Linked DNA regions of Homo sapiens: region 2 is linked to region 1. The links are contacts of gene promoters, found by promoter capture Hi-C in blood cells and fetal thymus (Javierre and others, 2016). All regions are on one chromosome and are shown on one strand. The core of a region is centred on a gene start or on the middle of the fragment in contact, and the rest is flanking DNA. Distances in the headings are between cores, read along the strand shown. Region 1 holds the start of KTI12 (KTI12 chromatin associated homolog). Region 2 has its middle 3.1 kb from the start of COA7.

The links. The method cuts DNA at HindIII sites, captures the fragments that hold promoters and counts their contacts. A CHiCAGO score of 5 or more calls a contact.
Region 2: a fragment that was not itself captured here is called in contact with the fragment with the promoter of KTI12 in region 1 in 1 of 17 cell types (fetal thymus); the score reaches 9.1 in fetal thymus.

Annotation. Positions count from the first base shown.
Region 1 is chr1:52,032,221-52,035,941 of GRCh38, reverse strand. KTI12 (KTI12 chromatin associated homolog) reads left to right here and starts at 2,132. Exons shown (of 1, transcript NM_138417.3): 1 at 2,132-3,721. The coding sequence starts at 2,181. The coding sequence ends at 3,245. The region is part of intron 2 of TXNDC12 (thioredoxin domain containing 12); the gene reads left to right. RefSeq lists an enhancer at 2,126-2,425. The HindIII fragment of the contact is 2,616 bases long and covers 1,430-3,721 here.
Region 2 is chr1:52,699,558-52,703,278 of GRCh38, reverse strand. No RefSeq gene overlaps it. Among named protein-coding and RNA genes, the nearest start is that of COA7, 3.1 kb to the right of the region's middle. RefSeq lists enhancers at 1-153, 1-401. The HindIII fragment of the contact is 3,859 bases long and covers 1-3,686 here.

The sequences.
Region 1 (3,721 bases), core at 883-3,382:
ACTTGCCCAAGAGCACACAGCTAGCAAGTGGCAGACCCAAGCACTCTGGCTTCAGAGCCTGCTCTTTAAACCTGTATACCATACTGCCTGCTAGAATCAAGTTGAATAGTCTGTAAAGTCTCAAGTAGGTTTAGTTTATGCACAGACAATTCAGTGCATAAGGAGGAGGAAAAGGCAGGGCAGGGGAGGGAAAGCTAAGCACTGGTCTGTGTTTACTTTTTTTTTGTTTGAGACAGAGTTTCGCTCTTATTGCCCAGGCTGGAGTGCAGTGGTGCGATCTAGGCTCACTGCAACCTCCGCATCCCGGGTTCAAGCAATTCTCCTGCCTCAGCCTCCTCAGTAATGGGATTACAGGCACACGCTACCCCACCCGACTAATTTTTTAAAAAGTATTTTTAGTAGAGACAGGGTTTCACCATGTTGGCCAGACTGGTCTCGAGCTCCTGACCTCAGGTGATCTACCCTCTGCCTCCCAAAGTGCTGGGATTACAGGCGCGAGCCACCATGCCGGGCCTGTGTTTACATTTATTTAACCCTCACAACAACCTACAGATTGGTAAACCTGTGAAATAGCAGTTGTTATTTTATAGAAGGGGAAATTGAAGTACAGAAAAGTTACATAATTTGCCAGTAGTTACAACACTAGTAAGTGGAGGAGCCAAGACTTGAATGTTTTTTACTATACTGTACAAGAGAGATACAAAGACCCCAGTATATGTGCATCTACAATATACACACATGCACAGGCACACTCACATTTCTGCACCTACCATCCTATAGTGCTTGCTGTTTATACAAGAGATCCAACAGTTTCATGGCTCTGGGTCTCAAACCTACAATAATAGAGTTGCCAGATTGAGCAAATAAAAATAACGGATGGCCAGGCACAGTGGCTCATGCCTTTAACCCCAGCACTTTGGGAAGCCAAGGCCAGTGGATCACCTGGGGTCAGGAGTTTGAGACCAGCCTGGCCAACATAGTGAAACCCCGTCTCTACTAAAAATACAAAAATTAGCCAGATATGGTGGCGCACACCCATAGTCCCAGCTACTTGGGAGGCTGAGACAGGAGAATCGCTTGAACTCAGGAGGTGGAGGTTGCAGGGAGCTGAGATCATACCACTGTGGTCCAGGCTGGGTGACAGAGCGAGGCTCCATCTCAAAAAATAATAATAATAAAATAAAATAAAGGATGCAGGCCAGGCACCTTGGCTCACACACCTGTATTCCCAGTACTTTGGGAGGCAGAGGTGGCACAATTACTTGAGCCCAGGAGTTTGAGACCAGCCTTAGCAACATACAACCTCATCTCTAAAAAAGAAAAAATAAATAATAATAATAAATTAAAGATGCCCAGTTAAATTTGAAGTTTAGATAAGCACCAAATAATTTTAAATATGTCTATGCAATATTTGGGACACACTTAAGCTTAAAAATGTTTTTGGTGTTTATCTGAAATTCAAATGTAACTGGGCATCCTGTATTTTATCTGGCAACCCTACTAAGGAGAAAAATTCCTATTTGTCTTTCAAGTTCTAAGTCAAATGACTATTTCTACATAAAGTCTTCAGTGATTTCTCTGGGTAGTTTGTTTTTCCCTTCTGTTCTTTTATAACCTCACCTGCATCTATCCATTATAGTATTTATTACTCTGATTGTAGGCGCCTGATCCTTCCCATTCAGACCTTTTATCTTTTGTGGGGAAAGCGTTTTATGTTCATCTCTGAATTCCCAACCTTGGAGATGTTGAATGATTGAAATGGTAATTGAATAAACATTTACTGAGAGCCAGTAGGTTTAAGAGGAGGAATGAAGGAGAACCAGCATTTATTAATTGCCTTCTATATGCTAAATATAGTGCTGATTGCTTACAATATTTAATGCCCCTTAGGCCTTATTAATAAAATGGACGGGCAGTCTTTCGCTGCAGGAAGATCACATTCTCCTGAGGCCTATAACATTTGGCATAAATAACTGATGCCATTATAGTCTCTGTATCTCCTTTCTGAGAAAGCTGAACCTGGGCCTAGCTGGCGTAGAACTCCTGTTTCCATAGAAACAAGAGGGTCTGTAAAAGTCAAGGGAGACAGGAAGAGCAGTTTGCACTTCCGGCTTACGTCGGAGACGCGTACAACCCGGAAGTTGGCGCAGCGCGGTTGCCAATGGTCGCTCCCTGAGAGGATGCCGCTCGTGGTGTTTTGCGGGCTGCCGTACAGCGGCAAGAGCCGGCGTGCTGAAGAGTTGCGCGTGGCGCTGGCTGCCGAGGGCCGCGCGGTGTACGTGGTGGACGACGCAGCTGTCCTGGGCGCAGAGGACCCAGCGGTGTACGGCGATTCTGCCCGTGAGAAGGCATTGCGTGGAGCTCTGCGAGCCTCCGTGGAACGGCGCCTGAGTCGCCACGACGTGGTCATCCTGGACTCGCTTAACTACATCAAAGGTTTCCGTTACGAGCTCTACTGCCTGGCACGGGCGGCGCGCACCCCGCTCTGCCTGGTCTACTGCGTACGGCCCGGCGGCCCGATCGCGGGACCTCAGGTGGCGGGCGCGAACGAGAACCCTGGCCGGAACGTCAGTGTGAGTTGGCGGCCACGCGCTGAGGAGGACGGGAGAGCCCAGGCGGCGGGCAGCAGCGTCCTCAGGGAACTGCATACTGCGGACTCTGTAGTAAATGGAAGTGCCCAGGCCGACGTACCCAAGGAACTGGAGCGAGAAGAATCCGGGGCTGCGGAGTCTCCAGCTCTTGTGACTCCGGATTCAGAGAAATCTGCAAAGCATGGGTCCGGTGCCTTTTACTCTCCCGAACTCCTGGAGGCCCTAACGCTGCGCTTTGAGGCTCCCGATTCTCGGAATCGCTGGGACCGGCCTTTATTCACTTTGGTGGGCCTAGAGGAGCCGTTGCCCCTGGCGGGGATCCGCTCTGCCCTGTTTGAGAACCGGGCCCCACCACCCCATCAGTCTACGCAGTCCCAGCCCCTCGCCTCCGGCAGCTTTCTGCACCAGTTGGACCAGGTCACGAGTCAAGTACTGGCCGGATTGATGGAAGCGCAGAAGAGCGCTGTCCCCGGGGACTTGCTCACGCTTCCTGGTACCACAGAGCACTTGCGGTTTACCCGGCCCTTGACCATGGCAGAACTGAGTCGCCTTCGTCGCCAGTTTATTTCGTACACTAAAATGCATCCCAACAATGAGAACTTGCCGCAACTGGCCAACATGTTTCTTCAGTATTTGAGCCAGAGCCTGCACTGACCAGAGGAGGTAGGGGGGAAGCCATGGCTTCTGATCTCCACTCCACTTTATTTCTCTGGGAAAAATAGGCTGCAGGTCTCCAGAGCATATCGATGCAGTACTGTACTAGAGCTGTTGTGACTGATTCACTCAAACTTTCCTGCATACCCCTGTGCCAGGCCTTGGGTTTACAGCATAAGTTCAGACTAAAGAGAATGGAGAACTATTGTGGTGCAACCTGGCAAATCCCTCAGAGGACAGAGCTAAGGTGGACAGGGATTACCTAGATTGGATCCTACTTGGGCTATCACAGAGCATTGACCATTGGCTTCCCTCATCTGAGGCGTGGGAGAGCAGACTGGATAGATGAGAATTGTTTTAAAACAATTGTGAACAGAAACTGAAGATGGTACAGTTCTACATCTGCACCTGCCCTTTTTTCATACCACAAAAGTATTTTTTGAGTACTGTACTGACTTTTTGCTAGTTTCTATTCT
Region 2 (3,721 bases), core at 508-3,007, 670 kb before region 1:
GGGGTTGACTGGCCAAAGCAGGAAGGGCAGGGCGTCTCCACGGCTAACCCACAAAATGCTGAGAGTCCCGAGGGGATCTGCAGAGGACGGCGAGCTGGGCAGCCCCCGAGCAAGCCACCTGGAACCTCCCTCAGCTGCACCAGCCACTCAGAAAGATCGGGTCCGTTTAGACACGAGCACCAATCTCAGGCCTCCAAAGTGACCTCACAGCAAACGTGATTGGTCCGGTCTCTCTCACGGGGCGGCTCCTTTACCAACGTGTAACCCTTTGGGAGAGGTTTAGCGGGCTGTGTGACCTGGTGGAAATCACTTTACTTATCTGGACCTCCTTTATAAAAAGGAGGTATTAAGACCTATCCCGAGGCCTGGAGCGGTGGCTCACGCCTGTAATCCCAACGCGTTGGGAGGCCGAGAATGGATAATCTTTCTAACAAATGGTGCTAGAGTAATTATAAACCCACATGCAATAAAGTGAACCTCAACTGTTATCTCATACCTCATACAAAAATTAATCTGAAATGGATCATAGGCTTTCTAAATATAAGATTTAAACCATAAAATTTCTACAAGAAAATATAGGATAAAATCTTAGTGACTTTGGGTTTGGCAAAGACTTCTTGAATACGAAAGAAAAAGCACAAACTATTAACAAGAGGAAAAAAATCAATAAACTAGACACACCATTAAAATGAAAAACTTTTGGTTTTGAAAGACACTGTTATAAAAACAAAAAAGGCAGGCCAAACTGGGAGAAAATATATGCAAAACTTCTGATAACGGACTTGAATATATAAATAACTCTTAGAATGCAATAATAAAAAACAATCCAATAAAAAGGGGGCGAAAGATTTTAACAAACATGTCATCAAAGATACACAGATGGCAGATAAGCACATGAAAAGATGCCAACATTATTGGTCACTCAAAAAAATACAAACTAAACCTATGATAAGATACTGTTATATTCACTATAATGGCTAAAATTTTAAAAGACTGACCACACATCAAATTATGGTGAGGATGTAGGGCAACTAGAACTGTCAAACACTGCTGGTAAGAATGTAATGGTAGAATCACTTTAGAAAACAGTTTGGGTGTTTCTTAAAGTTAGATATATACCTACCATATGATCTAGCCATTCCACTCCTAGGTATGAACCCCAAAAATGGAAATGAATGCCCATACAAAGACACGTACACAAATATTCACAGCAGCTTTATTTGTAAGCCAAAAACTGGAAACCCAAATGGATAAACAAATTGTGATATATCTACATCATGAAATGTCATTCACTAAGAAAAAGAATGAACTATTAATACGTGTGGTAACATGGATGAATCTCAAAATAATTATGCTGAATCGAAGAAACTATACAAAAAGAAACAGTACTTACTGTATCATTCTATTTAGATAATATCCTACAAAATGCAACCCATCTTCAGTGACAGAAAGCAGATTAATGGTTGCTGGGGAGGGAATGAAGTACAAAGTCACATGAGGAAATTTTGAGGTGATGAATATGCTCATTATCTTGATTGTGATAATGGTTTACAGGTGTATACATATGTAGAAACTCATAATTGTTACTTTAAAGTTATGTGCAGTTTCCTGTATGTCAATTAGACCTTCATTTAATGTTTCTTATAGCTTTAAGAAAAACCTGGGTCAAAAGAGCAAGAGTCAGTGATATTCTAAGTTCCATTAATGAAAACCAAATTATTTGGAATGATAATCCCTCTTCTTAATTCAGTCAACAATACTTGGGCACCTAATATTGCTGGGCACAATCAAGACACTGTTATTATAACAAGAATGAGCTAAGACCACATGGACGATGTCAAATTGAAGCAGAGAACTTAAGAAGGCAAGCCAAAAAAAAAAAAAAAATACAGGGGAAAAGCACTCTAGGGCAGAGGCAACAGTTAGTTCAAACGGATCACGAGGTCAGGAGTTCGAGACCAGCCTGGCCGATATGGTGAAACCCCATCTCTACTAAAAATACAAAAATTAGGCGGGCATTGTGGTGGGCGCCTGTAATCCCAGCTATTCAGGAGGCTGAGGCAGGAGAATTGCTTGAAACCGTAAGGCGGAGGTTGCGGTGAGCCAAAATCACGCCACTGCACTCTAGCCTGGATGAAAGAGCAAAACAAAAAAAAGTGACCTCTTACTTGGTTGAGCCTCTCATCACCAACTAACTCTCTTGTGCCCTCTACCGCTCAGGTGATCTCATTTCAATGCAGTTCAACTCAGAAAATAAAGGGAAACATTCCCAGATTTTAGTAATCGACATCACCCTGCTCTATTCTATCATCAAGCCCTATTCTATTCTTGGCCCTGTGACCAGCATACAGGACACAGAGGTCACAGTCTGGTGGGGAACACAGACTTTCATGCCATTATTGGCATGACAAGAAACATTCCTGGAACAGGAATGACTTTGAGCCAGGCGCTCTGCCAAGCACATTGCATACATGAACTTGTAGTCCTTCTGACAGCCATTACAAATGGATCTGCATTTACAGAAGAGGATTCAGACTCACAAACATGATTGGTTTAAGGTTACAATTTAATAAACATGGAACATGGATTCTGAACTAAGATCTGTCCCCACTCCAAAGCCAGTTCTTTCTTTCCTACTACACTATACCAGAATAAACCAAGTGGTGTGGAACACCAAAATGGGAGCATCTAAATCTAATTTGAATGTGTGTAATTGTTGTGTCTGGGAAGACTTTACATAGGAGAGTATTTCCGATTTGTGTCAAAAAGGGTGGTCCAGGCATCAAGAGCAGAGGTAAACAGGGACACAAACTTGGGATCTATTCAGAGAACAGAAGGTTGGTGGGATGTGGGGGAAGAGAGGCAGAAAATAAGGCTAGAATCAGATTGCACAGGGTCTTGAAGGCCATCCTAAAGAAGATGACCTCAAACCAAAGTTCAAGGATTCCCATCCTGGGCCATGTGTACTGAGGAGTCCCCTAAGGTGATCAGGGTATAAGAAACCACAGGTAAATGTGGTATATTGCCTGGAATGTCAATTTTACTCAAAGGCTTGGGGGAGAAAAGGCAATCTTCTGTTATCCTATGAAAGATGTATTATGGGGAAATGAATGTAAAATCCTATGAATTTAAAAAATAAAACTGGGATTTCAGACATTATTGGCTGCCTTCCAATAAATAAGTGGTTGGAAATAGTCCATTCTTTGCTGCCATTGGGGATAGCTTAATAATGGAGCCATTTGGAAAGCATTGTTATAGGCGATGGGAAGCCATGGATTTAGCTCCATTGAGAATTCAAAAGTAGGGCTGGATGGAATTCAAAGATGAATGGGAAGTCAGCCGGGTGTGGTGGCTCACGCCTGTAATCCCAGCACTTTGGGAGGCCGAGGCCAGCGGACCACCTGAGGTCAGGAGTTCAAGACCAGCCTGGCCAATATAGTGAAACCCTGTCTCTACTAAAAATACAAAAAAAATTAGCCGGGCGTGGTGGTGGGCACCTGTAAGCCCAGCTACTCGGGAGGCTGAGGCAAGAGAATCGCTTGAACCTGGGAGGCGGAGGTTGCAGTAAGCTGAGACCGCGCTATTGCACTTCAGCCTGGGCAACAAGAACGAAACTCCGTCTCAAAAAAAAAAAAAAAAAAGACGAATAGGAAGTGGCTGTCTTAGGAGAACTTTCCATCTAAGCTTTATGGAACTGATGATTCTTAGCAGGAACAGGAGC